Regions from separate parts of the Homo sapiens genome. Here all the other regions are linked to region 6. Evidence: promoter capture Hi-C in human tissues and cell types (Jung and others, 2019). All regions are on one chromosome and are shown on one strand. Each heading gives the region's core, a stretch centred on a gene start or on the middle of the fragment in contact. The rest is flanking DNA. Distances are from core to core; before and after follow the strand shown. Region 1 overlaps GFOD2 (Gfo/Idh/MocA-like oxidoreductase domain containing 2). Region 2 overlaps CBFB (core-binding factor subunit beta). Region 3 holds the start of CBFB (core-binding factor subunit beta). Region 4 overlaps PHAF1 (phagophore assembly factor 1). Region 5 overlaps CBFB (core-binding factor subunit beta). Region 6 holds the start of TPPP3 (tubulin polymerization promoting protein family member 3).

Region 1 (4,893 bases), core at 1,177-3,676, 300 kb before region 6:
AAAATGGCTCACTGCAACCTCCACCTCCCAGGCTCAAGTGTTCCTCCCTCCTGAGCCTCCTGAGTAGCCACAGGTGTGTGCCACTGCACCTGGCTTTTTTTGTTTGTTTTTTGTAGAGACAGGGTTTCACCATGTTCACCAGGCTGGTCTTGAACTCCTGGCCTCCCAAAATTCTGGGATTACAGGTGAGCCACTGCACCTGGCCTTTTTTTTTTTTCTTTTTCAGTTAAACATTTTGCTATCCAGGCTGGGCGCGGTGGCTTGCTCCTGTTACCCCAGCACTTTGGGAGGCTGAGGCTGGTGGATCGCTTGAGGCCAGGAGTTTGAGACCAGCCTGGCCAACATGGCAAAACCCCTTCTCTACAAAATGTACAAAAATTAGCCAGGCGTGGTGGTACACATCTGTGGTCCCAGCTGCTCGGGTGGCTGAGGCACGAGAATCACCTGAACCCAGGAGGCGGAGGTTGCAGTAAGCCGAGATTGCGCCACTGCATTCCAGTCTGGGTGACAGAGTGAGACTCTGTCTCAAACCAAACTAACAAACAAAAAAACACCACATTCTCCTATCCAATAGTAGTTGATTTTAGAATGTTGAGCCAGCCTTGCATTCCTGGGATTAAACCCCTGTTGGTCATGGTGTATTTTTTTTTTAATTTTTATTTATTTTTGTTTTGTTTTGTTTTTTAGAGATGAAGTCTTGCTCTGTTGCCCAGGCTGGAGTGCCAGTGGTGCGATCTCAGCTCACTGCAGCCTCTGCCTCTTTGGTTCCAGCGATTCTGCTGCCTCAGCCTCCTGGGTAGCTGGGACTACAGGTACCCACCATCACGTCTGGCTAATTTTTTGTATTTTTAGTAGAGACGGGGTTTCACCATGTCAGCCAGGATGGTCTCAATCTCCTAACCTCATGATCCGCCCGCCTTGGCCTCCCAAAGTGCTGGGATTACAGGTGTGAGCCACCACGCCCAGCCACATTGCTAGATTTAATTTGCTAATATTTTGTTGAGGATTTTTGTGCCTAAGTTTATGAGACGTATTGGTCTATAGTTCAGTTATTTATTTTATTTTATTTTTTTGGCTCTCCCACCCTGCTGATAATCCCAAATCCTAGTGATAACTGTCTGCTCCATTTCATTCCCTCCATTAGACCCTCCTTATGTCTTACTTGATATCCTAACTGGTTCTCTGTGTCTAATGTCTCCTAAACTCTATCCTACCTACGTCTTTCTGCCAAATTAAAGAAAAAAAATGCAGGCCGGGCACAGTGGCTCACGCCTGTAATCCCAACACTTCGGGAGGCCGAGGTGGGCAGATCACCAGAGGTCAGGAGTTCGAGACCAGCCTGGCCAATATGGGGAAACCCCGTGTCTACTAAAAATGCAAAAATTAGCTGGGCATGGTGGCGCACACCTGTAATCCCAGCTGCTCGGGAAGCTGAGGCAGGAGACTTGCTTGAACCTGGAAGCAGAGGTTGCAATGAGCCAAGATCACGCCACTGCACTCCAGCCTGGGTGACAGAGCAAGACTCCATCTCAAAGAAAAAGAAAAAGAAAAAAAATCCAATGGTTCTTATTGCTTACCTGCATTAGTCAAGGTCTAGACAGGAAACAGTCAGTGTACTCAAAGGGTTAATTAAAAACTCTTTAATGAAGGGATTATTCACAATAGTGTGAGTAGTAAAGGAAACATACAAGGGATAGTGGAGCACCCAGGGACTGGCAAGGTAGTGTCCCCACCCTAGGTGCAATGACGGAGTGGGGATGTGTCACTGGAACCCAGCAAAAGCAATGGCCATGGGAGAGAGGGGTCCTCTAAAGGAGCTGTGACCTTGGTTAAGGAACACAGCTCTGCCAGAACCATATCCTGGGAGGGAGAGAAGGCAAAAAATAAACACCTTGGCCTTTCCTCCTGCTCGCTGATCTCTTCCTGGTTCTTTCCCTTGGCTGGACTCAGATGGAAGCCAGAGGACCTGGAGCCCAGGGCTTTAGAGACTGACCTTCTGACTCCAGAGACAAAAAGCAGGGCAGAGAGGATCAGGTAGGGAAGGAGGAGCAGACCAAGAATACTGAGCACACCCACCTGTCAAAGTCCAAACTCTTGAGATTAACACTTTACGCCACCAGTTCTGGCTCCTACTCACCTTGCTGACTTGTCACCCCTGAAATTAGGACTTTTCATCTTTTTATGTCCCACAGCTCCCTCGTTAGCTCCTCAGAAAAGGTGAGACATTGACCAGATTAGTATTGGTTTTGAACAGTGGATCAGAGGCAAACAGTCACCCCCAGAGCAGACAGTGGAAGGAACTTGCCTGGCTCACACTCATGAGGAAGGATGGAAGAAGAGTTGCTCCACACATGCACATGTTACAAAATGACTCTTTTTCTTTCTTGTTTTTATAGAGGCTCAGAGAAGTGAAGTAACCTGCTCAAGGTTTCATGCTGGTTGTAGCAGGTCATGCACACAGCCAGGCGTGGAACCCTGGGAGAGTTACCTCACCTCTTTGAGCATGTTTTCTTATCTGTACAACAGGGTTGCATGGAACAAGGGACAGACTAAACACTGGCTGCCCTATTATACTCACTTCATATTAGCTCAGAATTATGACCCTCATATTTCTACTCAACTTTTGAAGAAGAGACATCTAAGTCAGTCACAGATAGTTAACAGATATCTTTTTTTCAGAAAAAGATTCCCTATGTACTGACTCATATCTAATTGGCCAGGCCCAATTATAAGTATTCTACAAATATTAACTCAATCCTTAAATCCCCTGTGAGGTAGATAAAATTTCCCCATTTTACAGATGAGGAAATGGAGATACAGAGTGACTAAAGGACTTACCTGAGGTCACCCAGCTGGAAAGTGACAGAGCCAGGATTTGAACCCAGGCAAGGCCTTGTCAAATTGTATATAGCCTGTCCTGCCAAGGCACACTTCATTCCTGACCAGCATGTGGTGATGGGAAATGTATGTGGTCTTGGCAGGACTGGGTTTGTGGAGATCTTTGGAGGCATCTGAAGGATATGTGCAAGGATGTTAAAGACAAAGAGTGGGGAAATTTTAGGGGTGAGAAAGGGTAGCCACTGAAATTAACAAGGAAAACCAGCTCTGCCTGCTTGGGCAGGAAATACCTAGTCAGCAAGCCTGCCTGCCTTCATGCCATCTGGCTTCCTCGGGGGCCAGCCAATACCCCTTTATGGGAGTTGATGAAGCTTCCCTTTGAGTCAGTGGCAGTAAAACAGGTTATTAAAAATTTTTCGGCCGGGCGCAGTGGCTCACGCCTATAATCCCGGCACTTTGGGAGGCTGAGGCAGGCGGATCACGAGGTCAGGAGATCCAGACCATCCTGGCTAACATGGTGAAACCCCGTCTCTACTGAAAATACAAAAAATTAGCCGGGTGTGGTGGTGGGTGCCTGTAGTCCCAGCTACTCGGGAGGCTGAGGCAGGAGAATGGCGTGAATCCAGGAGGCAGAGCTTGCAGTGAGCCAAGAGCGCGCCACTGCACTCCAGCCTGGGTGACGGAGCGAGACTGTCTCAAAAAAGAAAAAAAATTCTAGTCCATTCTGTTGTTTTAAGCTACCGATACTTATATATATTTTTCACTTCATATTGGCTCAAAATTATCATCCTCATATTCCTACACAGCTTTTGAAGAGGAGACATCTAAGTTGGTCATAGATACGTAATAGATCATTTAAAAAAAAAAAAAAGATTCCCGGCCGGGCGCGGTGGCTCACGCCTGTAATCCTAACACTTTGGGAGGCTGAGGCGGGCAGATCACGAGGTCAAGAGATCGGGACCATCCTGTCCAACATGGTGAAACCCCGTCTCTACTAAAAATACAAAAAATTAGCCAGGCATGGTGGCGGGCTCCTGTAATCGCAGCTACTTGGAAGGCTGAGGCAGGAGAATCGCTTGAACCTGGGAGGTGGAGGTTGCAGTGAGCCGAGATCGTGCCATTGCACCACTCCAGCCTGGGCAAAAAGAGCGAAACTCGATCTCAAAAAAAAAAAAAGGGTTCCCTATGTAGTGGATACATACATTCCCTATATATACCCAAATACAACTAGGGTGAGAAGGAACACGGTGTGAGAGTGGAGGAGGTGTGCCCTGGGCATGAATTTAGAGAAGACATGGACTGTGTCTCACTCCCTTAGCCCTGTAACAATTAGTAATTAATGACCAACAAAATTTGGCTGGGCACAGTGGCTTATGCCTGTAATCTTAGCACTTTGGGAGGCCGAGGCAGGAGGATCACCTGAGGTCAGGAGTTCGAGACCAGCCTGGCCAATATAGTGAAACCCTGTCTCTACTAAAAATACAAAAATTAGCCAGGTATGGTGGCGCATGCCTGTAATCCCAGCTACTCGGGAGGCTGAGACAGGAGAACCGCTTGAACCCAGGAGGCTGAGGTTGCAGTGGGCCAAGATCATGCCACAGCACTCCAGCCTGGGTGACAGAAATGAGACTCCGTCTCAAAAAAAAAAAAAAAAAACTTAAGTAGAATCTCACTACTTACCTAATGCTGCATGCTTGACACTGTCAAGCTCCTATAACAGCCATAACCTGTAAATAACCAAGACACCTGTAAAAGCAGACAGTGACCAAATAGCCGAAGGGAGTCCAGGACATGAAAATTGTAGAAGATAACTGTGTGCTTGACCTGTTTTCTAAGAAAACTAGTAGAGAAGCCTGTAGGGGCAGAATTAGCAAAGAGAAAAGAGAGAGATGGTGGCTGGGCTCAGTGGCTCATGCCTGTAATCCCAGCACTTTGGGAGGTCAAGGCGGGTGGATCACCTGAGGTCAGGAGTTCGAGACCAGCCTGGCCAACATGGTAAAACCTTGTCTCTACTAAAAATACAAAGATTAGCTGGGTATGGTGGCGTGTGCCTGT
Region 2 (4,927 bases), core at 1,116-3,615, 290 kb after region 6:
AGCAACACACCAGCCCAGGCGTGGTGGCTCACGCCTGTAATCCCTACACTTTGGGAGGCCGATGCGGGTGGATCACCTGAGGTTAGGAGTTCAAGACCAGCCTGGTCAACATGATGAAACCCCATCTCTACTAAAAATACAAAAAATTAGCGGGCACCTGTCATCCCAGCTACTCGGGAGGCTGAGACACGACAGTTGCTTGAACCCAGGAGGCGGACGTTGCAGTGAGGAGAGATTGAACCACTGCACTCCAGTCTGGGCAACAGAATGAGACTCCATCTCAAAAAACAAACAAACAAAACAAAGCAACATAACCAGCCTATCCTGACTGATAAGAGAAATTGGGAAAACTGTCAATTATGCCTCCTGTACTGTTTATAGCTTTGAAATGTCTCCATGCCAACAAAGCTACCCTTAATCTTCCTGTGTTACTATATCGTATGATCAGTGGGACCAAGTTTCTGACTCCAGTCTTATTCTCCCCAAACAAAATTGAGTTTTCTCAAGCACCGATTCCATCAAGGTCATAAGCCCTCAATGGCTTCCTGTTCACCCTTGGGAATGGTCCAAATGTTTTATTTAACACGGTTGGAAAGGCCAGTCCAGCACTGCTTGTGACTCTTACCCTGCCCTCTGCTGGGTGGAATCTGCCCTTCTGGATTCATCTCACTGCTGCAGCCCCCTCTTTTCTGTTCCAGTCATACTCAGCTGCTCTTAGCTTCTCAAACTTGCCAAGCTATTGGCTAGCTACCTGCAATACCTTCTCTAGCTAGCTTAAGGTCTGCCATCCTTCAGATCTTAGCTCAAACATCTCTTTTTTTATTTTTGAGACGGAGTTTCACTCTTTCGCCCAGGCTGGAGTGCAGTGGTGCAATCTCGGCTCGCTGCAAGCTCCGCCTGCTGGGTGCATGCCATTCTCTTGCCTCAGCCTCCCAAGTAGCTGGGACTACAGGCGCCCGCCACCACGCCCAGCTAATTTTTTGTATTTTTTAGTAGAGACGGGGTTTCACCATGTTAGCCAGGATGGTCTTGATCTCCTGACCTTGTGATCCACCCGCCTCGGCCTCCCAAAGTGCTGGGATTACAGGCGTGAGCCACCGCACCCACCCTCAAAACATCTCTTTAGGGAAGCTTTTATTCACCACCCAGACTAGAATAGATGTACTATAAGAGCCAGTACTTCTAATGTAACTTAAACAGTGTTACTGCCTTTGGTCAGCTTTTTAGCTAGACTGTAGATTCCTTGTGAGCAGGGAACATGTTTATTTTGGACACTGGATATTTCCCCCCCTAAATGATAACCATACTTTTAGTCTCCAAAAAAAAAATAGAACTTCAACATTTTCCATTTTTATTTTTATAGGTAATATCTTGCTCTGGTGGCCCAGGATGGAGTGCGGTGGCAAGATCATAGCTCACTGCAACCTCAAAATCCTCGGCTCATGCGATCTTCCCACTCCAGCCTCCCAAGTAGCTGGGACTTAGAGGTGTGCACCACCATGCCTGGCTAATTAAGAAAAATATTTTTGTGCAGATGAAGGTCTTGCTATCTTGCCCAGGCTGGTCTTGAGCTCCTGGCCTCAAGCAATCCTCCTGCCTCAGCCCCCCAAAGTGCTGGGATTACAGATATGAGCTACTGTGCCTGGCCTTTTATTTTTATCTACAACATCTCCTCAACATTTCTGAAATCTGAATGAGGCCAATAACGACCTTAATTCTAAGTTGCTTAAATTTTCTAACCAAAAGCTGGGAGTTGACTAAAACAGTGACTTATCTGTTTCAGAATATTCCATATTTAAACAAACTAAACTGCCATTTCCATCCATGATTTCACCCTGTGACTGTCATTTTTTAGCTTTGGAACATTTCTGAAATGCCATATATGAATATATGATGGTGATGCAAGAAAAGGGGTTGATGCTATCTAGGGGGAATCATGTATTCAAATCTGCAAGACTGAAATCTTACCTTTAAAGAATGTTTAGATTAAAACACCAAAGGTATCTTTTTTTTTTGAGATGGAGTCTCGCCCTGTTGCCCAGGCTGGAGTGCAGTGGTGCGATCTTGGCTCACTGCAAGCTCCACCTCCTGGGTTCGCACCATTCTCCTGCCTCAGCCTCCCGAGTAGCTGGGACTACAGGCGCCCGCCACCACACCCGTCTAATTTTTTGTATTTTTAGTAGAGACGGGGTTTCACCGTTAACCAGGATGGTCTCGATCTCCTGACCTCATGATCTGCCTGCCTCGGCCTCCCAAAGTGCTGGGATTACAGGTGTGAGCCACCGCGCCCGGCAAAACACCAAAGGTATCTTATACTCAGTTACGTATATTTGGTAATATCACCATGGTGGTTTAGAAAGATGTCCACAAATGCTTTGACATCCCCGCCTTCAACAGATGAAGCTTAATATTCCTCCCCCTTTGAGTGTGGACCAGACCCAGTGACTTGATTCTAACATACAATATGGCAGCCCAAGATTCAGTTCTAAGACTGTGCTTTTGGCTGGGCATGGTGGCTCACACCTGTAATCTCAGCACTTTGGGATGCCGAGGCGGACGAATCACTTGAGGTCAGGAATTTGAGACCAGCCTGGCCAACATGGTGAAACCCCGTCTCTATGAAAAATACAAAAATTAGCCGGGCATGTTGATGGGCACCTGTAATCCCAGCTACGTGGGAGGCTGAGGCAGGAGAATCGCTTGAACCCGGGAGGGGGAGGTTGCAGTGAGCTGAGATTGCAGCACTGCAGTCCAGTCAGTCTAGGCAACAGAGCGAGACTCCATCTCAAAAAAAAAAAAAAAAAAAAAAAAAAAAAGACTGTGCTTTCAACTTGGGTGTGCGCTCTCTTGGATCACTTGCCTTGGGGGAAGCCAGCTACCCTGCTGTGCACTGTCCTATGGAAAGACCCAGCTGGGCATGAAATGGAAGCAGGTCTCTGTCCAACATCTAGCAAGGAACATCTGCCTTTCATCTAGCAAGCTGCAAAGAACCGAGGCCAGTCAGTGACCACATTAGTGGGTTTGAAAGGGGATCTTTCATCCAGTCAATCCTTGAGATGACTGTAGCCCAGGATGACTCTAACCTTATGAGGAACTCTGAACCAGAACCATTGATCTTAGCTACTTCCAGATTTGTGACTCACCTGTGGGATAATACGTATTTATTGTTTTAAGCTGCTAAGTTTTGGGGTAATGTGTTATGGATAATACAATGGTTTATAGATTGAAAAGCTCCTCATTGCCAAATGAGGCATAAATCAAGTAAGATATTTTTCACCAAGCAGCCCCGAGCTAGCATATCCAATTATGTTTCTAGAAGTGATATACTTACTAAAACCATGCTGTTACTGCTCAATTTTTTGAAATTAACTCTCAGAGCATGAATCCTACTCTTTGGAATTTCCCTTAATGGTGTCAATTCAGAATTTAAAGGCATTTTTGTCATTTGCAGTAAGTCTTGTGGTTAATGAGTGAATCTGTTTATCATGTGTCAAGCTTAAGGCATACTTTCAAGGAAAAGGGCTTACTTTTCTGTTGTAGGAAAATGCCAGGAGTCTTAAGAATGTTTGATATAACACCAGCACAATCAAAACGGCTGTATATTTCCAAAACAACTAGCTTGAAAGATGGAACTAATTTGGATGTGTAATTTAAAATTCTTTCTCCCAACATCACTACTTTATGGTCATATCTCACAGGATGGGTAAATCAAGCCAGATTTCTTGAAAACCATAATATACACTGGGGGATTTGTATACCTTGTGATACCTATATTTAAAGTAGTCTTCTTTGGAATCAACAGAAATTACCACTAGATGCCACTGTTGTTGCTTTCTTAGAAATTACTGGGTTAGGTCAAGAAAGAGCCAAGACCCTGTTTTTACTACACAGAAGTTTATTGTGAAAGTAAATTAAACAAACAAACACACAGTATGGCCAATGGTGGCAAAAGCAATCTGGTAGCTTAAGGCAAGTTTTAATGGAGATGAATTTAGAAAAGATGATGCAATGATGTAATTTTGTTTAAATATAGATTATGAAAAAATATCAAATTGCATCAATAACTTAATAGAAGTAGTTTTCAAAGCCTGTACTACTGGAGAAAAAGGGCTCATGATCTTAATGCCAGCATTAAGACAGACAGAAGCAGCATGGTGCTAAATGACAGAAAAATCCAGTATTTACATTAGGATGGTAACAGGAACATTTAAGAGCATTTGATCTTATTTACTGGTGGACCGAAAGCCCTTAGCTAGACAATAGAGGAAAATGTACCATCATCATGTTATTTAAAAAAATTTAAGTGCAGAAGTAAAAAACCAAGGAGCTCTGTAATAAAGTAACATAAAACACCACTGTAAGGATCACTTAAAAAGCGATTCCCTCAGGGGAAATTAGGGCACTGAGTGTGTAAACATGTGAGCTGTACAACACCAAAACCAACCAAATTCATTCATAGTACTTATAGTTATGCAAGATCAGCATGGCCTTTAATGACGCATTATTGTTTGTAACAATTTAAACACACTCCTTTCCATGCATAACTTCAAATATATAACAAATACTTTTATTTGATACAGGATATCTGTTTATGAAATAAGACCTATATACAATGAAAGTAACACCTCCCTCATCAGTCAAGTACAGTTATATGCTTTTTAAATGCAATGACCTTATTCAGACTTCAGTCCATTTTCTGAATTGACTGTGTCAGTTTTTCACCCTTTAAAATAATGCCATTTAATGATAAAATACATTTTTCAAAAATTCAGAAATGTAGTAACATTTAATAAATGTGACCATGAAAAATATTTGTAAGGAGGTGCCAAATGACTTAGCACTGTTTTCCACTCTGTATCTAAAAAAAAAGTTGCAATTTGACAGTAAGCCTATTTAAAAAATATTCTTACATTAATTCATCTCAAAA
Region 3 (4,802 bases), core at 1,308-3,807, 360 kb after region 6:
CCCCGTCTCTACTAAAAATACAAAAAAATTAGCCGGGCGTGGTGGTGTGTGCCTGTAATCCCAGCTACTCAGGAGGCTGAGGCAGGAGAATCGCTTTAACCCAGGAGGCGAAGGTTGCAGCGAGCCAAGATCATGCTGCTGTGCTTCCAGCCTGGGTAACAGAGCGAGACTCCGTCTCAAAACAAAAAAGCAAACAGTGAGAGTACAAGTACTTTGTAACTTATCTTTTATACTTGCATCCTTTACCTCCAGGAAATTCTATCGTCAGGTATACCACCTTCCCTTTGCAAAAGGTAACCCAGGCAAAGGATGACACGATCATCGCACCAGCTAATGAATTCTTTTATTATACCACTCAGTGCCAAAACCTAAAAGTATGTCTTATGCACTTCAATCATATAAATACTACAATTACTCAAGAAATTTGCAAGTGGGCTAAAAGCTTGAGACTCTCTTTCATAACATGCACTAATGACCAAATATTCAGGAGCTCCTGATAAATTTAACCAGTATCTTCTCACTATTACAACTCTAAAAAGCTTTCACTTAAAATATCAAAATATTCTTTAAAAATAAATTTGAGTTCAGTGATGTAAAGGGAGAATTTTATGACATATGAATTATATCTGAATAAAAATAAACTGGTTTTATAAAGGGGGTGGGAGAAGTAAATTTCCAATGTCTTCCTACTGTTAACCCAAATTCAAATCGCACCTAGCTTCAAGCCTCTAACAATGCAGTGAGTCCAAGTCACCGAGCAGAGAGTAACAGCATTCCATTAGACAGTGCTTCAACTTTTTAAAAAATAATCAGGCCAGACGCAGTGGCTCACGCCTGTAATCCCAGCACTCTGGGAGGTCGAGGAGGGCGGATCACTTGAGGTCAGGAGGCCAGCTTGGCCAACAAGGTGAAACCCCGTCTCTACTAAAAATGCAAAAATTAGCCGGGCGTGGTGGCAGGCACCTGTAATCCTAGCTACTCAGGAGGCTGAGGCAGGAAAATCGCTTGAACCCAGGAGGCGAAGGTTGCAGTGACCCGAGATCGAGCCACTGTACTCCAGCCTGGGCAACAGAGCAAGACTCTACCTCAAAAAAATAGTAATAATCAACCTCTTTTCTTGGTTTCTTCCTACCACTCCCTCCTCATCAGCACCTCCAACAAGGCAAACCAAAAAGATGAGAGGAACTAGGACCCTTGGATTTTTTTTTTCAACCCAAGGTCTGGTGAAGACGCACTAAATCTGCCTCCTAAAACAAGGACCTCGAGATCAACCGTGGGTTTTGCCCATCTGTGCAGTTTTTAGGAACAGCAGCCCTACTCAGGACATGGGGATAATGGTTTCTTTCTGATTCTCCTGAAGCTTAACATTCTAAGAAAATGACATTTTTAGGGCCTTTTCCCCCCCCTCCCCTCTCTATTAGAATAAATAACTGGAGGAAAGATTTCTACTCGGCGATCTGGTAGTGAGACCGCTTGACACAGAGAATTACCGACAGATCTACCTTCTAAGAAACAAACTATCGCCGACCTTGAATGAAGCTCCACTTCTTTTTCCGAATGGGGGTTTGCTTGCTACAAATACCCTGAACCCTTCTTCGGTGTCGCCGCCTAAACAATGCCCTTCGCTTGTTTAGTCTGGCTCGGGTTCGAGCTCCACTCGCGGTGCTCCGTTGGCCGACACGCGCCACCGCGGCGAGCCCCAGGAAAAGCGTCTCCCCGCGAGTACCGGCCCGCGGCATCTGGTTTCGCATTTTGAATCCCGAGTAGGAAGTGAGACGGCGCCCACTCAGTTCCGGGAGCCGCAGCAGCCGCGCCGCCGTCCGGAACCGGCCTGGGCCGCCGCGGCCCCGCGCAACAAGTGACCCGCGCGCGCCCCGGGCCAGCCGACTTACGATTTCCGAGCGGCCGTCGCGGCAGGCGTTCTGGAAGCGTGCCTGGCGTTCCTCGTGGGGCCGGTCCCTGAAGCCCGTGTACTTAATCTGCAAGGCAAGACGGCCCGAAATCAGGAGCCAAATCCGCGGCGCCGCCCGCGCGCCCGCCCTCCCAGCGCAGCGCCGATAAGGGCAAGCAGAGGCTGCGGGCGATGGCCGCCCCGGCGAGATTGCCCCTCCGCGGGCGCACCGACCGGGACTCCCGGGGACCGTGCCGCCCAAACTTTTCTCCGCCCGGGCCCACTCGGGGCGCGCTGCGGCCTCCTAGCCGCCCGCCCGCCTGCCTCACCTCACACTCGCGGCTCAGCTTCCTAAAAAACTCCTCGTTCTCGAACTTGCTTCTCTGGTCGGGCACGACGCGCGGCATCTTCCCGCCCTGAGGCCGCGCCGGCCGGCCGCGCTCGGGGCTTGCGCGGGCACCCGCTGGCTGGCTCCGCGCTGACCGACTGACCGCCCACCCGCGGCGCCCGGACGCCCGCTTCCCTTTGTTTCAGGCGCCCGCCCGCGTGGGCTCCCGTTCCGGGGAGTCTGAGGCGCCGCCGCCCGCTCGAGCCCAACCCACGCCGCCGCCGCCGCCGCCGCCGCCTCAGCCGTTGCCTGCCGCCCGCGCAGCCCCAGCGCTCACCGCCCCCGGCCGCCGCCGCCGCCGCCGCCGCCACTTCCTCTCACCGCCCACCCCGCCCCCGCCGGCCCCACCCCTCCTCCTCGCGCGCCCGCCCGCCTCCAACTCCGGCAAACAAGACGCACCATTCACAACTCCGCGGCCCACGCCGCGCATGCGCCACCCGCCCGCTGGCGGAGCGGCCTGGCTGTGGCGCCCCGGGGCTCCTTCCGCATCAGGGCCCTTTTCCCCCTGCTCGCCCGCGGCCACTCGGCGTGGAGCTGTCGTTGGGGGATCCGCCTGGCCTTTAGCAGACGGGAGTAGCCAGCGCAGGCCTTTTCTACCGCCCTTCCTCGGTCATCTGGAACTTCTGGGTTCCCCAGGTGCGCGGAGTAACCCCAGATTGTCACTTGAACGCGAGGAAACCTAAGTCCTTGGGGACTTTTCGTCCCTAAACCGACCGGCAGGGGTGTAGGCTCTGCACGTTGAAGACTGAGGTGGAAACGGACCAAAGAATCCAACCGAGTCATGGTGGAAAGGTCGTGGCTTTTGGAGTCAGATGGGTCTTAGATGGGATCCCACTCAGCTACACTACCTGCTGGCTGGGGCCTTAGATAAGAATTGGACCACTAAACCTCAGTTTCCTTATTTCCAAAATGCAGACACTCCTAGGTTTGCAGTGTTAGCGTGAGAACCTTTATGTGGGTCTAGCACACAGTGGGAGCCCAATAAATTTAAGTTTCTAAAGAAGAACAAGCTGAGTTAAGAATGTAACCGATTGCCAGTCCATATACTTACTCAATGTGCAATCAGCTGCAAAAAATAAGATCCATAAATTCTAGGGAAGTTGTTTAGCCCAAACTGGAGAAAGTCTGACATGGGATTTATGGCAGAGTTTGATTCAAAGTTAGTCCTGTGGCCGGGCACTGTAGCTCATACCCGTAATCCCAGCCCTCTTTTTTTTTTTTTTTTTTTTTTTTTTTTAAACAGAGCCTCGCTCTGTCGCCCAGGCTGGAGTGCAATGGCGCGATCTCGGCTCACTGCAACCTCCGCCTCCTGGGTTCAAGTGATTCTTCTGCCTCTGTCTCCCGAGTATTTGGAATTACAGGCACCCACCACCACGCCCAGCTAATTTTTTTGTATTTTTAGTAGAGACGGGGTTTCGCCATGTTGGTCAGGCTGGTCTCGAACTCCTGACCTCAGGTGATCTGCCCGCCTCGGCCTCCCAAAGTACTGGGATTACAGGCATGAGCCACTGCGCCTGGCCTAATCCCAGCACTTTGGGAGGCCGAGGCAGGCTGATCACCTGAGATCAGGAGCTCGAGGCCGGTCTGGTCAACATGGCAAAACCCCATCTCTACTAAAGTACAAAAATTAGCGGGGTGTGGTGGCACACGCCTGTAGTCTCAGCTACTCGGGAGGCTGAGGCAGGAGAATCGCTTGAACCTGGGAGGCGGAGGTTGTAGTGAGCCAAGACGGTGCCACTGCACTGCAGCCTGGGCCACAGAGCAAGACTCCGTCTCAAACAGCTACTCGGAAGCTGAGGCAGGAGAATTGGTTGAACCTGGGAGGCAGAGGTTGCGGTGAGCCAAGATCGTGCCATTGCACCCCAGCCTGGGGAACAAGAGCATAACTCCGTCTCGGGGGGAAAAAAAATCCATGAGGAAGCACTCTTGCTCCACAATGGGTCCAAGGAGGGCTCACAGACCTCCAAGTTGATCTTGGCCAAAGACTCTAGCAATAATTGTTTCTGCCATGGGAAATGTGGAATAAATAAAAATTGAAAGATCTCTAGAATGGCCTTGATGGCCATGAGCTTAGGCAAGGAAAAGGTCAGGGTCAAGGGAGCTAGACCTGGAGGGGTGGGAGTGCAGAGCAGGGCAGGGCGCTCTCATTGTCAGCCTCAAGGAGGGGAGGAACGATGTCCTAAGGGAAAGGGACAGCAAAGCCTGCCAAGCAGACCCAGAACAGCAGCCCCACAGACAGCCTTGGGCAACTCCAGGCCACAGGGTAACCCACACTCGTCGTAGTCTGGCATCCAACAGCCAGGATGACCGGGAAATAAGCCACAGGCTGAAGGAGGCCATCTCCTCGGCTGACCTCTATATGCCTTTTTGGTTGTTAATTTTTTTTCACTTATTTAAAAAAACAGAATTAAAGGAAATTTATAAAGGAAATTTTCACCCATGTAAGGTACACTTAAGTCTGTGCTCCTAACAGCTTTGGCAGCTGTTGAGTTGGGTATGGGTTGGCCCAGACACCATGCTATG
Region 4 (4,540 bases), core at 1,691-4,190, 260 kb after region 6:
TGGGACTCAGGCTCTGGTCTTCCCTGTCACTCATGGTCTTCAAGAGCTGCTCAGGTCAAAGGGTCAAAGTACACCCTTAAACCTGGCTCTCTGGCTCTGGGTCAGTAAACTCCCCAAAACCATGTAAGTCCACCTTTAATTCTGCTTGGTTTTCCTTTTCTTTTTTTTTCTTTTTTTTTGAGACGGAGTCTCACTCTGTCACCCAGGTTGGAGTACAGTGGCATGATCTCAGCTCACTGCAACCTCCACCTCCCAGGTTCAAGTGATTCTCCTGCCTCAGCTTCCTGAGTAGCTGGGACTACAAGTGTGCACCACCACAACCAGCTAATTTTTTTTTTTTTTTTGAGACGGAGTCTCGCTCTGTCGCCCAGGCTAGAGTGCAGTGGCATGATCTCGGCTCACTGCAAGCTCCGCCTCCCGGGTTCACGCCATTCTCCTGCCTCAGCCTCCCAAGTAGCTGGGACTACAGGCACCCGCCACCACACCCAGCTAAATTTTTTGTATTTTTAATAGAGACGGGGTTTCACCATGTTAGCCAGGAGGCCCGCCTCGGCCTCCCAAAGTGCTGGGATTACAAGCGTGAGCCACTGCGCCCGGCCTGTTTTTTTTTTTTTTTTTTTTTAATATTTTTGGTAGAGACAGGGTTTCACCATGTTGGCCAACGTGGTCTCGAACTCCTGACCTCAAGTCATCCGCCCGCCTTGGCCTCCCAAAGTGCTGGGATTAGAAGCATGAGCCACCATGCCCGGTCAGTTTTCCTTTTCTTCATAGGGGAAAATGCAGAAATGCTTCCTTAATTAAAATAAGTCTTATGAAAGCTTATCATTTTCACAGCCCCTAGGATGAATGAAATGTTTGCAAAAACAAAGGTAACTGAAAATCCAGAGGATGAAATCTCCAAATTCTAGGCCACCAGGAAAACTGTTGATTAGGAGCTTGAAAATAAGGAATGAATGAACTTATCTCTGAAAAGTGAGCCTGACCTCACTCCATTGTGGGAAGTATCCTCTTCCTCGGAATGCCAGCCTGAGCATTGTTCTTCCTCTGTCAACCCACCCACTCTACCACTTTACCCTGTAGAGCTCAAATACATGGAAACCAAAGAAAGTCTGCCTATCTAATACCCACTCCTCTATTCCCATCCCATGACACCATCTGCTGAGCCATACCACAGACACATACAACAAACACCAGGGGACAGGAAGGGCTAACCTCATACTTTGGAGCCTCAGTCCATGAGTCTAACTGAAAAGAGAAAGACAGTCCTCTGAAGTTGAGATGGAAGAGCTGCTCAGCGGAGTTGTACACTGTTGGGGGTGGGGGAGAAGAAAATAACATGGTTGACTGGCATCTGAAATGGCTAACATAAACCAGCCTGGCAGGGAGTAATGACTGACAACACCTTCCCTGTGGCTTGTTTCTAAACTGGCCTACTAGGTTGAAAACAAGGGGGAGGATGTTTCCTTCACACCCAAGTACCAACCCCACAATCCTATGGGAGCCTGACTCCAGGAAGTGGGGTGGGATGGCACTACCGGGCAGGTTTATTGCTATGAACTGCCACTGATGACCAGAGGAATCAGATGGACTTGGCTTACCTCCAGGATGGGTTGCGCCAAAAGACTGGTCAATCTGTTCAATGGTAGGAGCTATGGCCTGAGAATTAAAATGCACGCCACTGAAAAACAAAAATATTTTTTAATACTAGGCTTCACAAGATGGGCCCACAGATCATGTGAGATAGTAGCTGGGAGAGTTATTTTTAAGACACAGGCAGGTGAGTCTCTAATTATATCAAAATACAAAGCTTAATTAGAGAACTTTTAAATAAGAGCATTAATGAGGTCAGGAGAAGGTCAGTTCTCATGAGGCTGATATACAGAGTTGATCCTCTGGGGCTTTATGACACCAGTGACTCTTAAGAAAAGGGTAGAGAAGAGAAGCCACCAGACCCTGAGGTATGAAGGCCCCAGTAAAACTAAAAGACAACTAGAACCTGCAGGGGCCAGTGGTACCACACATTTGCTTGTCTACTCCTCTATCAGCAAAACTGCCTGAGCCTGCCCCAGGAATCAGGTCCTCTTCACACCCTCAAAAAGGGAAAGGGAAGCCAGTTAAGGAGACTTACTGAAAGGAGTATTCTATCGCTTGAACCCAGGAGGTGGAGGTTACAGTGAGCTGAGATGGCGCCACTGCACACCAGCCTGGGTGACAGAGAGAGACTCCGTCTCAAAAAAAAAAAAGAAAGAAAGAAAGAAAGGAAGGAGTATTCTAGATTTTTAGATGCAGGCATGCTGCCTTGCCATAATGGGGGCGCAACAACTTTGGACTGTGCATGTCATCCCCGCTGTAATTCTAAAAAATACATTATAGCTCTAAAATGGTGGTCTCTTTGGCATTCTCTTCAGCATAGGCTTTGGAGTCAGACCTATCTGGTTTGTCCCACCTCTGTTACTCATGAAAACATGAAAAGAGGTGCCAAGAGAGGCTGTCAGCGGGAGGGCAGCTATGACCCAGGAGACTGTCACATCACCTCTGAGCTGAGGTCTGGCTTTGTCAAGTGGATTAAGTTAGATGACATATACATGAAGTGTTAAACACATCACATATTCTTAATGAGGTTTACTTCTCTTCTCCAGGAAACTGAGCAGGCTTGAAGGTTGCCTCAGGAATTCATGGCACCAGGCTATAATTCACATCTGTGACAGATGTGAATCTTTACTAACTTATGAAGATAGTAGATATGGCCTGTCTATACCAAGTGTGACATATACCAGCAGGGGAGAAAACTTACCAATATTTTAACTTTACTTTAGTCAAATCACATACTTCGATCACCTAAAAAAAAGTTTAAGAGTTGTCAATGCTCTGAAAGTGATGACAGACTAAAAATGATTAAAAATACATTTATAGAATAAATAGTAAAAAAAAAAAAAAAAAAAACTATTACCAATAGAAATTTTATGGAAGCACTGCATGTTATCTTTTGTTCTCATTTAAAATTTTTTTAAAAACTTTTTGTAGAGATAGAATCTTAGCAAAACTAAAAAACTATGTTGCCCAGGCTGGTCTCAAACTCCTGGGCTCAAATGATCCTCCTGTCTTAGCCTCCCAAAGTGCTGGGATTACAAGCATGAGCCACCATGACAGTCCTTTGTTATTTTGAAACCAGGGAAAAAACCAGTTTCCCCTTCAGCATAACCATAGCCAGTGTCCCCTTCAGCATAACCTCTTAGCTTCCCTCTCCTAGTGGACTGCTCAACAGATGTCCATGGATGCTCTGGGTCAAGGCTCTTACATGCAGTCCACTTCTGGGTCAGGCTGGAGCACACACCACCCTATAGGACAATGATCTCTTCCACAGACATGAAGCTTGTTAAGGCTCTGCTTTGGGCACTAAGCCCCCTTCCTCCCATCTCATATTTTGCTGCATTTTAAAACCCAGGTCGGGTTGCTTTAGAAAATAGCTTATTTTAGCCGGGCACGGTGGCTCACGCCTATAATCCCAGCACTTTGGGAGGCCCAGGTAGGTGGATCTCCTGAGGTCAGGAGTTCCAGACCAGCCTGACCAACATGGTGAAATCCTGTCTCTACCAAAAATACAAAAATTAGCTGGGCGTGGTGGCACACACCTGTAATCCCAGCTACTGTGGAGGCTGAGGCAGGAGAACCGCTTGAACCCAGGAGTTGGAGGTAGCAGTGAGCTGAGATTGCGCCACTGCACTCCAGCCTGGGTGACAGAGCGAGACTCCGTCTCAAAAAAAAAAAAAAAAAAAAGGCCGGGCACGGTGGCTCACGCCTATAATCCCAGCACTTTGGGAGGCCGAGGCGGGCGGATCACAAGGTCAGGAGATTGAGACCATCCTGGCTAACACGGTGAAACCGTGTCTCTACTGAAAAATACAAAAAATTAGCCAGGCGTGGTGGTGGGCGCCTGTAGTCCCAGCTACTGAGGAGGCTGAGGCAGGAGAATGGCGTGAACCCGGGAGGCAGAGCTTGCAGTGAGCGGAGATTGCGCCACTGCACCCCAGCCTGGGCGACAGAGCGAGACTCCTCCAAAAGAAAGAAAGAAAGAAAGAAAATAGCTTATTTTGAAGTTGATTTTGTTTACAAAACAAAAAGATGGAGGGGGAGGTCTATCCCATTAGAAAGCAAGCCATAATATTTGTCACACAAGTGTGACAGTATTCAGTTATGTCCCTGATGAAGAGGATCTGGTTGAAACAAGAAAGCCTCAGGACCTTTGTGAAGCTTGCTCTTTAATGGGTTCAGCCTCAGATGAAATTCTAAGAACTCAGGGCAGGGCAGAGATAAAGGAATAGGCATCACCTAACACTCCGCCATCAGTGGTGCCAAGTAATAAGCACTATGAAGTCCTCCATGCAATGGTGTCAAGGGCTTGGCAGCCAGCAGCACAGGTAGGGGCTCGGAGCACCATCTACCATCCTCCAGCTGGGAGGTTTTGCTCTCATTGTGGAGACACAAGCAGAGCTGGCTCAATATCTGTTTGTCCTGCCAATCTGAGCCTGATTGTGGAAGA
Region 5 (4,566 bases), core at 1,008-3,507, 350 kb after region 6:
CCAACATGGAGAAACCCTGTCTCTACTAAAAATACAAAAAATTAGCCAAGCATGGTGGCACATGCCTGTAATCCCAGCTACTCGGGAGGCTGAGGTAGGGAATTGCATGAACCCGGGAGGTGGAGGTCGTGGTGAGCTGAGATGGCGCCATTGCACTCCAGTCTGGACAACAAGAGTGAAACTCCATCTCAAAAAAAAAAAAAAGAAAAAAAAAAAAAAGGCTAGACACGGTGGCTCACAAGGTCAAGAGATCGAGACCATCCTGGCTAACATGGTGAAAACCCGTCTCTACTAAAAAAATACAAAAAAATTAGCCAGGCGTGGTGGCGGGCTCCTGTAGTCCCAGCTACTCGGGAGGCTGAGGCAGTAGAATGGCATGAACCCGGGAGGCAGAGCTTGCAGTGAGCTGAGATCATGCCACTGCACTCCAGCCTCGACAACAGAGCGAGACTCTGTCTCAAACAAACAAACAAAAAACACCATTCAGTTGTGTAATTGGTGAATTAAGATGCTGACTTTCGTTTCAATTTTTAACTTCATGTAATATCTTATTTTAATATTTTATAAATAGCTTTTAAAAAAGTGAGTATAGTCTCACTGAGAATATGTGTCAGGAAGAACCAAAAAGCTCAATTCTCTCCCCTGGTCAACTGCCTGAATTTTCTTTTTTTCTTCATATCCAATGTTTTCATACAGAATATTCAGGATGGATATTTTAACCTTGGCCAATACATTTAAGGAAAATAAAAAATGTTTTAGGGGTTTTTTTTGTTATTTGTTTGTTTGGAGATGGAGCCTTGCTCTGTCACCCAGGCTGGAGTGCCGTGGTGCGATCTCTGCTCACTGCAACCTTTGCCTCCCAGGCCCAAGCAACTCTCCCACCCCAGCCTCTCTCAAGTAGCTGGAACCAGAGGCATGCGACACCACGCCTGACCAATTTCTGCATTTTTATTTTTATTTTTTTTGAGATGGAATTTTGTTCCCAGGCTGGAGTGCAGTGGCGCGATCTTGGCTCACTGCACCCTCTGCCTCCCAGGTTCAAGTGATTCTCCTGCCTTAGCCTCCCGAGCAGCTGGGACCAGAGGCACCCACCACCATGCCCAGCCAATTTTTGCATTCCTAGTAGAGACGGGGCTTCACCATGCTGGCCACGCTAGTCTTGAACTCCTAACCCCAGGCGATCCACCCGCCCTGGCCTTCCAGAGCACTGGGACCAAAGGCACGAGCCACGGCACCTGACCCAGTAAAAAAATGGCCAAGAAATGTTCTGGATAGCAAAGGGATGGATAGAAACTCAGGACTAAAAAGCTGGTGTGAATAAATATCCTAAAAAAAAAATTTAAAGGGTTCTCCCAAATGGCTCATTACTTAGAACACTGTTCTGCAAACAGGGCCACACGATTATTAGAAACTATCATTGTTATTATATGGAACAAACTTTGAACATCTATGATATGGGCAGATTTGTTTATTTGAAAACATCTACATTCTTCTAATGTAAATGTCGAAGTCACAAGTTTCTAGGCCATCCTTTTGTTTTAATCTGAAGATTAACCTGTCTTTACATCTGAAGTTTTAAAACACAAAAAGGCTCAGTACTGACTGCATACATGGGTAAAAGGTTTTTCATCCACAAAAACAACCTGCCAACCATCCCCAGACTCAGCCCTTTCCCTCTTAGGTACAGCCTGCATTAGAGTCCTGAAAGCACAGCAATACTGCCAAGAGGCACGTTTTATTTTTTTAAATAGTTTCCACACATGGCATTGAAGACATTTCAAATGGTATTTATTTATTGAGACAGAGTCTTGCTGTGTTGCCCAGGCTACAGTGCAGTGGCATGATCTCAGCTTATGCCTGGCTAATTTTTTTTTTTTTTTAGTAGAGACGGGGTTTCACTATGTTGGCCAAGCTGGTCTTGAACTCCTGACCTTGTGATCTGCCTGCCTTGGCCTCCTAAAGTGCTGGGATTACAGGTATGAGCTACTGCGCCCGGCCCTTCAAATGTTATTTAAAATTCTTAGTTCCTAAACACACATCAATTTGAGGAGGCCCAGCTTAAACTGAAAAGCTTATAACAGATAATACTTTCCAACTGTTCACGTGCATACTTTCATAAAAAAAGGAACAATAATTAAAGTCTACCATATCACTATTATACTTTAGCTTGTCTGTAGCTTCCAATCCTCTGTACAAAACTAAGCATCAAAGAATAATATTGAAGAAACAAAGTCTCTGCACCTGAAGGTAAACAGCATTTTTATGCTGTTAAAAAGAAATTACAAACGTTTTCTTCCCTGTAAGATGAGGATCACAAAAGTATCAGTGCATGTATGTCTGCATCAATTAGAACACTACCTGCAAGGGGGCATGAGGGAACTTTTTGAAGCAATGGTGAACTTTGGTGGTGGTTATACTACTGAATACACAGTTGTCACAGACTTGTACACTTAAAATAGGTGAACTGTACTACATGTAAATTATACCTCAATAATGCTGATTGAAAAACTACAAGTGAAAATGGGAAATAGTAAAACTAGGGCATAGCAGTGCTACAAAGAAATTAACATCTTCAGACAACAACATTTCAATAGTCTTTATCCTGGCAGCATTTGAATTAACCATTAAAAAAAAATGATGGGTACATGCCTGTAATCCCAGCACTTTGAGAGGCCAAGGCGAGAGGATTGCTTGAGTCCAGGAGTTTGAGACCAGCCTGGGCAACATGGTGAGACCCCCATATCTACAAAAAAATTACCTGGGCATGGTGGCGCGTGCCTGTGGTTCCAGCTACTTGGGAGGCTGAGGTGGGAGGATCGCTTGAGCCCAGGAGGCAGAGGTTGCAGTAAGCCAAGATCACACCACTGCACTCCAGCCTGGGTGACAGAGAGATATCTAGTTTCAAAAACAAACAAACAACAACAAAAAAGGCCAGGCACAGTGGCTCAGAGCGCCTATAATCCCAACACTTTGGGAGGCCAAGACAGGCGGATCACCTGAGGTCAGGAGTTTGAGACCAGCCTGGCCAAAATGGTGAAACCCCATCTCCAATAAAAACACAAAAATTAGCCAGGTGTGGTGGCGGGTGCCTGTAATCCCAGCTACTTGGGAGGCTGAGGCAGGAGAATCGCTTGAACCTGGGAGGCGGAGGTTGCAGTGAGCCAAGATTACATCACTGCACTCCAGCCTGGATGACAGAGCAAGACACTGTCTCAAAAAAAAAAAAAAAAATGTAGAAAGTAGAAGGAAGGAGGGGAAGAGTGAAGGATGCTCTTCTCAGACATATTATTTCTGCCTTCTCTCACTTGGAATATGTAATTCAGGAAAGGTCATGAAAGAGAATTTCACCTTTACACTAAAATGGAAATAATGCAATCCAAAAGAAGAGAAAACGGGACTTCACAATCTTCAAGTGCTTCAGAGGTGCATTTACCATGTATGCAGATTCACGTACTCTAACTGGAAGGTACTATGACATACTAATTTTAAAACATTTTAATTTTTTTTTTTTCAGACAGAGTCTTGCTCTGTTGCCCAGGCTGGAGTGTTGTGGTACAATCTCAGCCCACTGCAACCTCCGCCTCCCGGGTTCAAGCAATTCTCCTGCCTCAGTCTCCCAAGTAGCTGGGATTACAGGCACATGCCAGCATACCTGGCTAATTTTTTGTATTTTTAGTAGAGGTGGGGTTTCATCACGTTGGCCAGTCTGGTCTCGAACTCCTGACCTCAGGTGATCCACCTGCCTCGGCCTCCCAAAGTGCTGGGATTACAGGCATGAACCACCCCACCTAGCCAAAACATTTTAATTTTTTCAGAAAGTCGACTTCCTCTCTTAGATTGAAAAATAACTAAAATAACTAAAATAAAAACTTTTCTTTAAAAATACAAACGCTCTGCCAGCTACAAAGGTGTCAAATATATATATATATATAAGCTTGCAGTTACCAGTTCTAAATTTTATGATTCCGTTATTATTAGAGTATTATAGTTTATCTAAAGCATATTTTTAAAAACCAGATTTCAATACACTAAACTGTCAATAACTAAGTGCTGTCAATTCATATTTTAGTCGAACTGAAATACTTAAAATCCAGATGTGACAAGGTATTTGTAAAGTTGTCTAATTTCTCTTGAAGAAAATCACACTCCAAAGCTTTACCATAGAGATCTTTTATTTGGAATGACTGGGCTATCTACAGAGAAGGAACTTCTTGAGCTTAAATAGGGATTTCTCAAAGCTAACATCAAGAAGTCCTGTAAACTCTGCCAAATTGTGGATGGTATATAAACAAACACAATATGTATTTTGGGACAAAGATCCTGCAGGCAAGTGCGTAAATGGTACCAGAAGAAGCAGAATCATAGACCTTTATTAGAAAAGGCCATTTAAAATAAAATTCTGTCCTCACTCATTAAATCCAATCTTGTTAGATTTTGCTTTATTTTATGCTCATAAAAATAAATTAAAAGACTTTTAAGTATAAAGTCCAGAAAGAAAAAAAATACAACTTATCAAAATTTTTAAAAGTAGCTACTCTAATGACATATACTTAATAAATACTTCTC
Region 6 (4,973 bases), core at 1,200-3,699:
TCAGCCAGGGGAAAACAATTGGTTCAGAGGCTGGATCCCTGGGGACACCAGGAGCAGGTGCGGGCAGCTCTGAGCTTCCCACCACTCCCTGGCTGAGCCTCTCTAAACTGGGCCTATAGACCCATGGGGGCTGGGAGCCTTCCTGCAGGAGGCAGAGGCTGAATAGATGAGGTAAGGACCTGGGGATGGGGCAAGGGCCAGAAATGGGTGTTTTAAGCCTTACCCTACAGATGGGGTTTTCCCAGCATGGCTGGGAGCCTGGCATGAGGCCTGAGATATCCCACAGAGGCCAATGAGGGCAGGACTGCGTGGGCTTAGGGCTCAGCAGGCTCGGGAGCCACACCTGGCCTCCCAGCCTCCTTGACTTCCACCTTCCCCAGGAGATGGAGTTCTACATGCGGACCTTCAGACATATGCGCCCAGAGCCCCCTGGCCAGGCCGGGCCAGCAGCAGTGAATGCCAAGTGAGTGCAACCTGGGCATGTGCCACTGGGCATCTCCAGTTAGCATGGCAGGGCCATCGAGGCAGGAGAAGGGGGTAGGCTAAGGTCGGGGCATGGGTCAGGCCCTTCTCTGAGCTAACAGGAAGGGAAGCTTCTCTCAGCACCTCCAGTGGGGAGGGATTTGGGGAACAGGCCCCAGGCTTACCCTCCTGCTTCCCCCTCAGTCCCTCCCAGTTTCTTGCCACCCGTGGCCAAGCGGAACCTCCACCACCCTCTTCCCCAGACACTCTCGCCCTGCCTCCCCGGATCCGACCCCAGGTAGGAGGGACTGTGCTGGGCCTCCGGTCCAGGTGGAGTGGGATAGAAAGAAGCCTCTACCCTGGCGCTCGCCTCTGCTTCTTTTGGCGATGTGGGGCCCTCAGGCTCCCCCGTGTCTCTGCAGAAAAAGAGGAAGAGGCGCGTGTATAAAGTGCGAACGTCTGAGACCTCGGATCCGGCGTCGGGTGAGCGCCTCTCCCTGTCCGGGTCCTGCTCTGGGAACTCGAGGGAGGGGAAGGCAGAGCCACAAGCGAGCCGCAGCCACTGGGCTCATGTTCCCTTCCCTTGCGCAGGGCCTAGGGCCCCCAGCCGCCGCTCCAGCTCGTCGACGGATTCCGCGGACGCCAGCCCTGTGCACGCCGCTGGCCCTGCCGGCGCCTACCACTCGGCGTCGGCAGAGTCCGTGGACGAGATTCCAGTGGCGCAGACGCGCCTGGGCAGCGCCGCTCTGGCCGCCCCGCGGGGCCGGGGCCGACAGCCCACGCTGGCGCGGCAGGCGCGTGCGCCCGCCGTTTTCGTGAGCCCGAGCAGCGGCGAGCCCAGGGCGCCGGGCGGCCGGGAGGCTGGTCTGGCTTAGCTGGGCCGAGAGGCCGGAGGGCCGAGTTAGAGCGGCCGGCCTGACTCTCTATGCAACACCCCATCCTTGCCGCACCGAGTGCACTTTAGGGGCCCCTACGGCCGGCGGGATCGGCCTCCCTCCCCCACGACTCAGCAATACCCGCCCCACCGGCTGTGATGCTCCAATAAACTTTTTTATGCTTTTGCGGACGTCGCGCTTACTTTCTTAATGGCAGGGGCCACGGGCCATCCAGAAGCCCGACCCTGGCCAGTGGACCGGGGGCGGGGAGGAGGTCCCTGTATAGTAGGTAGCCACCCAGGCTGCCCTGTGGAGGTGCTCACGTGCGGCTCGTGGTTAGGAAAGGCCTTAGAAGGCGGCCTGGAGGAGGTTATTTTTCTTAAAGATGGGCTTTGCACTGGGAGGCCGAGAGAAAGCAGGCTTTGGGCTCCGAAAGCAGCAGTGGGCGCTGAGGCTGCGAGGCCGTGGGGAGGTGGCGGCGAAAGGAGGGGGCCGAGCCAGGAGGTCCCGCAGCTTTTCCCCGGCAGCAGGGCTGCCGTCGAATGCCAGCATCCTGGGGCTGGGCGAGCGCGATTCGCTCGTAGGGAGTCCCCTCCCTTCTTCCCCACTGCTCCAGGCTCTGAATCCTACCCAAGAGAGCACGGGAGTTGTGGCCTGGGGGTGCCATCCGTTCAGTGGATGGCAGTGCTCTTGAGTCAACCGTATACCCCTGTCACTGAGGGAGAGCTCCTTCCCGATTCCCCAAGCCCCACCAATGCCCCGCGCAGCTCCCCAGTGGCCTCTGGTTGACTCTCTGGGGAGCTGGATCTCTTCTGGAGATTGGGGCCGCTTAGAGCTTTAGGCACATCCCAGGATGGGAGGCTGTTTCCTCAGGGGGCCGTCCGAAGACGCCCCGAACTGCAGAGCGCTGGTCTCGCCGTCGCGAGGACCGCGGAGTTGCGGGGGAGGGGCGGGATGCGGCTCCCGGAGAGTCTCGGGGAGGGCGGGGCCTCGTGGGCGGGGCCGGCGTGACCTTGGTCACTCTCCCGCCGAGACAGCCTCGGGGGTGGGACTCGCCGTCTCTATGGAGACCGAGAAACAGGGGATAATACGGCGGAGCCGCCTGGGCTGCAGTCCCACCCGGGAGCCGGCAGGGAGCGGAGCTGCGGAGCCGCCTGGTCTCCCGCGTCCATCGGTCCATTCCTGCGTCGTTCTGTCCTTCCGAACGCACACTTCAGGAGCAGCCGCGAGGTAGAAGCCCATAGGAGACCCAGATGCCCGCCACCCCAATCAGTATCCTGCACGATGAGGGTTGGGGGGAGCAGCCTGGAAAGGGTCCCAACCTCCGGCGGTCCCAGCCGAGGAGCCAGCTGAGCGGCCCTGCCCTGGCCCCAAGCATTCCACCTCGCAGCCCCCACCTCCTGGTCCGGCTGATTGATGACTCCAGCTGTCCCAGTGGGAGCGGGACGGGTGGCTCCAGTTCACGGGTGTGGCCACTCCATCCATGGCCTGCAGACCCATGGGGCTGCGGCCTGCAACCCAGCGCCACCTGACCGCGCTGAGATGACCAAGAATCCATCTTTCCACGGACAGGAGTGAGCACTGCACGCAGGATCCGCCCAGTGCTTGGGCCAAGCACCCTGTGGCATCCAAGCTCCCCTGGACGTTACCCTTGGTGAACCAAGTGCGGGTCTTGGGGTCCCTGGTGGGAGGTTGCACCCAGGGAAAGGGAAGGGGAGTGCAGCGTGGACTGGGGTTATGGTCCCTGTAACGTAGGAACCACCGGTGCTCACAGTCCCAGAAACTGCCACTTAGGGATGGGAGTGTGGTCACTGGCGAGGAGTTTTTGGTGGAAGATGGGGCAGCCGGGCAGAGCCCAGGCCGTGGTCACTGGAAGCCCTAGTGTAAAAGGCAGAGCTAGAAGATGGTTGCTGAGACCGAGGGTGTGGTCAGGAGGTGGCAGTGGAGGAGGGGGATGTGGTGGGGAGGTCTCTACGCAGGGGATCTCCGCATAGTACCTGGGAGTCTTATAATGTTAGTGTGTGGATGTGGACTGGGGCCTTCAGTGCAGGCTGAGGGTGTGGCCAGAGGGCTGAGGGTGTGTGGACAAAGGGGTGCTGAGGGTCAGGGCGCCTTGATAAAGGGCTGCGGGTATTGGAGGGGGTGAGTGGCTGAGGCTATGGTCAGGGGTCTCAGGAAGGGATGCAGGTTTGTGGCCAGGGGCCTCAGCCCCAGGGCTGCGGGTGTGGGGATGGAGAAGGCTGCTGTGTAGGCTCAGGGTGTGGCCAGGGGTCTGCAGCGGAGGGCTGTGGGTGTGGGGGGCACTTTAGTGCTGGACTGTGGGTATTACTGGGGTTGGCGCAGGCTTGTTAGTATATATGTGGGGGCTGGTGGCCGAGGGCTGTGGCTGTGGGTGTGAAGATGGAGGATGGAGGGCTGAAGGTATGGCCAGGGGTACAAGGCCCAGGGGGTGGCAGGCCAGGGCTGAGTGCACAGGGTCGCTGGGAATGTGGGCTGGTGTGGCCAAGTTCAGGGCGTGGCCAGGGGAGGTCTGAGGTGTAGACATGATGAAGTGTGTTTCAGCCACAGCCCCACTTGCCAGCACGACTCTTGGGGTTCGTAACTCTACAGCCCCCACGCTACTAGCCCCCAACCTCCTGCTCCCCCAAAACTCCACAGTGGGAGGTTACAGCACCAGTCGGTGGCAAGGGGCCAGGAAGCCACGGTTATGCCCTAGGCGCAGGGAGTGCTGGCGTGCCCCACCCGTGGGCCCCAGCTTCCCAGCCCAGCCCAGCCCCTCAGCACTGGGAGCTTCTCCCTGAGCTGCCCTGACACCATCCTGCCCTTAGCAACATTCTCCAAGCAGCACCACCCTCCCTTAGCAACCGTCTCCAGGCTTCACAAACTGTGGCCAGGCCAGCCCCAAGCTCCCCTCATGTTTTTGTTTAACAGCAAATAGTAACAAGGCCTTGCTGGACCAGCTGCACCCCTGCCCAGGGCATGCACCCGTGCCCAGACTGGCTCTTGCTGGGTCCTCATGACCCTTACAGAGATGCTGTCCTCACTGAATGCCTGCCCGACCAGCAGCCTGGCCTGGCCCCAAGCCAGCTTGGCATGGAGCTTCCAGGGAGGGGGCCTGCTCTGCCACCCTCACTTCCACCCAAGCAAGGCCTTGTGCCAGGGCCAGACAAAGCCAGGGCCCCAGCTGCTGCCCTAACAGTCTTTCTGGACAGTGCCACTCTGTTCCCTGTGGGCATCATTATTTCATCTGCTGAACCCTGCTGAGAGCCAGGGCTGGCATTAGTGACAAGACCGTGCCTCCCGGGGCTCTTCCTTGGGGCTCTGTGGCCCAGGGCGACAGTGACGGGCCCCTCTCCCCAGGCAGCTCCAGCACCAACTCTGTAGCAGAACCTGCCCAGGTCTTGCAGGTTTGAGGTAGAGGCTGGGATGTTCTGGGCTTGGGGGAGGGGAAGGGCAGATTGGCTGGGAGATGACCCAGGTGGGTCTCTATAGGGTGGCATGGCAGCGAGCACAGACATGGCTGGGCTGGAGGAGAGCTTCCGCAAGTTTGCCATCCATGGTGACCCCAAGGCCAGTGGGCAAGAGATGAATGGCAAGAACTGGGCCAAGCTGTGCAAGGACTGCAAGGTGGCTGAC

The links. Contacts are between HindIII fragments. The study calls those that stand out against the background at their distance.
Region 1: a contact is called between a fragment that was not itself captured here and the fragment with the promoter of TPPP3 in region 6, in 1 of the 25 tissues and cell types used here (pancreas).
Region 2: a contact is called between a fragment that was not itself captured here and the fragment with the promoter of TPPP3 in region 6, in 1 of the 25 tissues and cell types used here (small bowel).
Region 3: a contact is called between the fragment with the promoter of CBFB here and the fragment with the promoter of TPPP3 in region 6, in 1 of the 25 tissues and cell types used here (adrenal gland).
Region 4: a contact is called between a fragment that was not itself captured here and the fragment with the promoter of TPPP3 in region 6, in 1 of the 25 tissues and cell types used here (dorsolateral prefrontal cortex).
Region 5: a fragment that was not itself captured here is called in contact with the fragment with the promoter of TPPP3 in region 6 in 4 of the 25 tissues and cell types used here (IMR-90 fibroblasts, dorsolateral prefrontal cortex, liver and 1 more).

What each region holds. Positions count from the first base shown.
Region 1 is chr16:67,695,136-67,700,028 of GRCh38, reverse strand. All of the region lies in intron 1 of GFOD2 (Gfo/Idh/MocA-like oxidoreductase domain containing 2), which reads left to right. Among named protein-coding and RNA genes, the nearest start is that of GFOD2, 22 kb to the left of the region's middle. The HindIII fragment of the contact is 7,245 bases long and covers 1-4,893 here.
Region 2 is chr16:67,100,009-67,104,935 of GRCh38, reverse strand. It overlaps CBFB (core-binding factor subunit beta), which reads right to left. Exons shown (of 6, transcript NM_022845.3): 6 at 3,878-4,927. Among named protein-coding and RNA genes, the nearest start is that of PHAF1, 7.5 kb to the left of the region's middle. The HindIII fragment of the contact is 4,683 bases long and covers 24-4,706 here.
Region 3 is chr16:67,026,904-67,031,705 of GRCh38, reverse strand. CBFB (core-binding factor subunit beta) reads right to left here and starts at 2,557. Exons shown (of 6, transcript NM_022845.3): 1 at 2,221-2,557; 2 at 1,893-1,979. The coding sequence starts at 2,298. RefSeq lists silencers at 1,775-1,824, 2,075-2,314, 2,405-2,594 and an enhancer at 3,155-3,294. The HindIII fragment of the contact is 10,821 bases long and covers 951-4,802 here.
Region 4 is chr16:67,129,584-67,134,123 of GRCh38, reverse strand. PHAF1 (phagophore assembly factor 1) reads right to left here. Exons shown (of 16, transcript NM_025187.5): 4 at 2,795-2,838; 5 at 1,599-1,678; 6 at 1,213-1,307. Among named protein-coding and RNA genes, the nearest start is that of B3GNT9, 19 kb to the left of the region's middle. The HindIII fragment of the contact is 3,254 bases long and covers 1,314-4,540 here.
Region 5 is chr16:67,044,462-67,049,027 of GRCh38, reverse strand. All of the region lies in intron 3 of CBFB (core-binding factor subunit beta), which reads right to left. Among named protein-coding and RNA genes, the nearest start is that of CBFB, 18 kb to the right of the region's middle. The HindIII fragment of the contact is 7,078 bases long and covers 1-4,566 here.
Region 6 is chr16:67,390,974-67,395,946 of GRCh38, reverse strand. TPPP3 (tubulin polymerization promoting protein family member 3) reads left to right here and starts at 2,449. Exons shown (of 4, transcript NM_015964.4): 1 at 2,449-2,567; 2 at 4,830-4,973. The coding sequence starts at 4,836. ZDHHC1 (zDHHC palmitoyltransferase 1) reads left to right here. Exons shown (of 12, transcript NM_001323627.2): 9 at 381-463; 10 at 667-760; 11 at 885-945; 12 at 1,054-1,795. The coding sequence ends at 1,337. The HindIII fragment of the contact is 12,612 bases long and covers 1-4,973 here.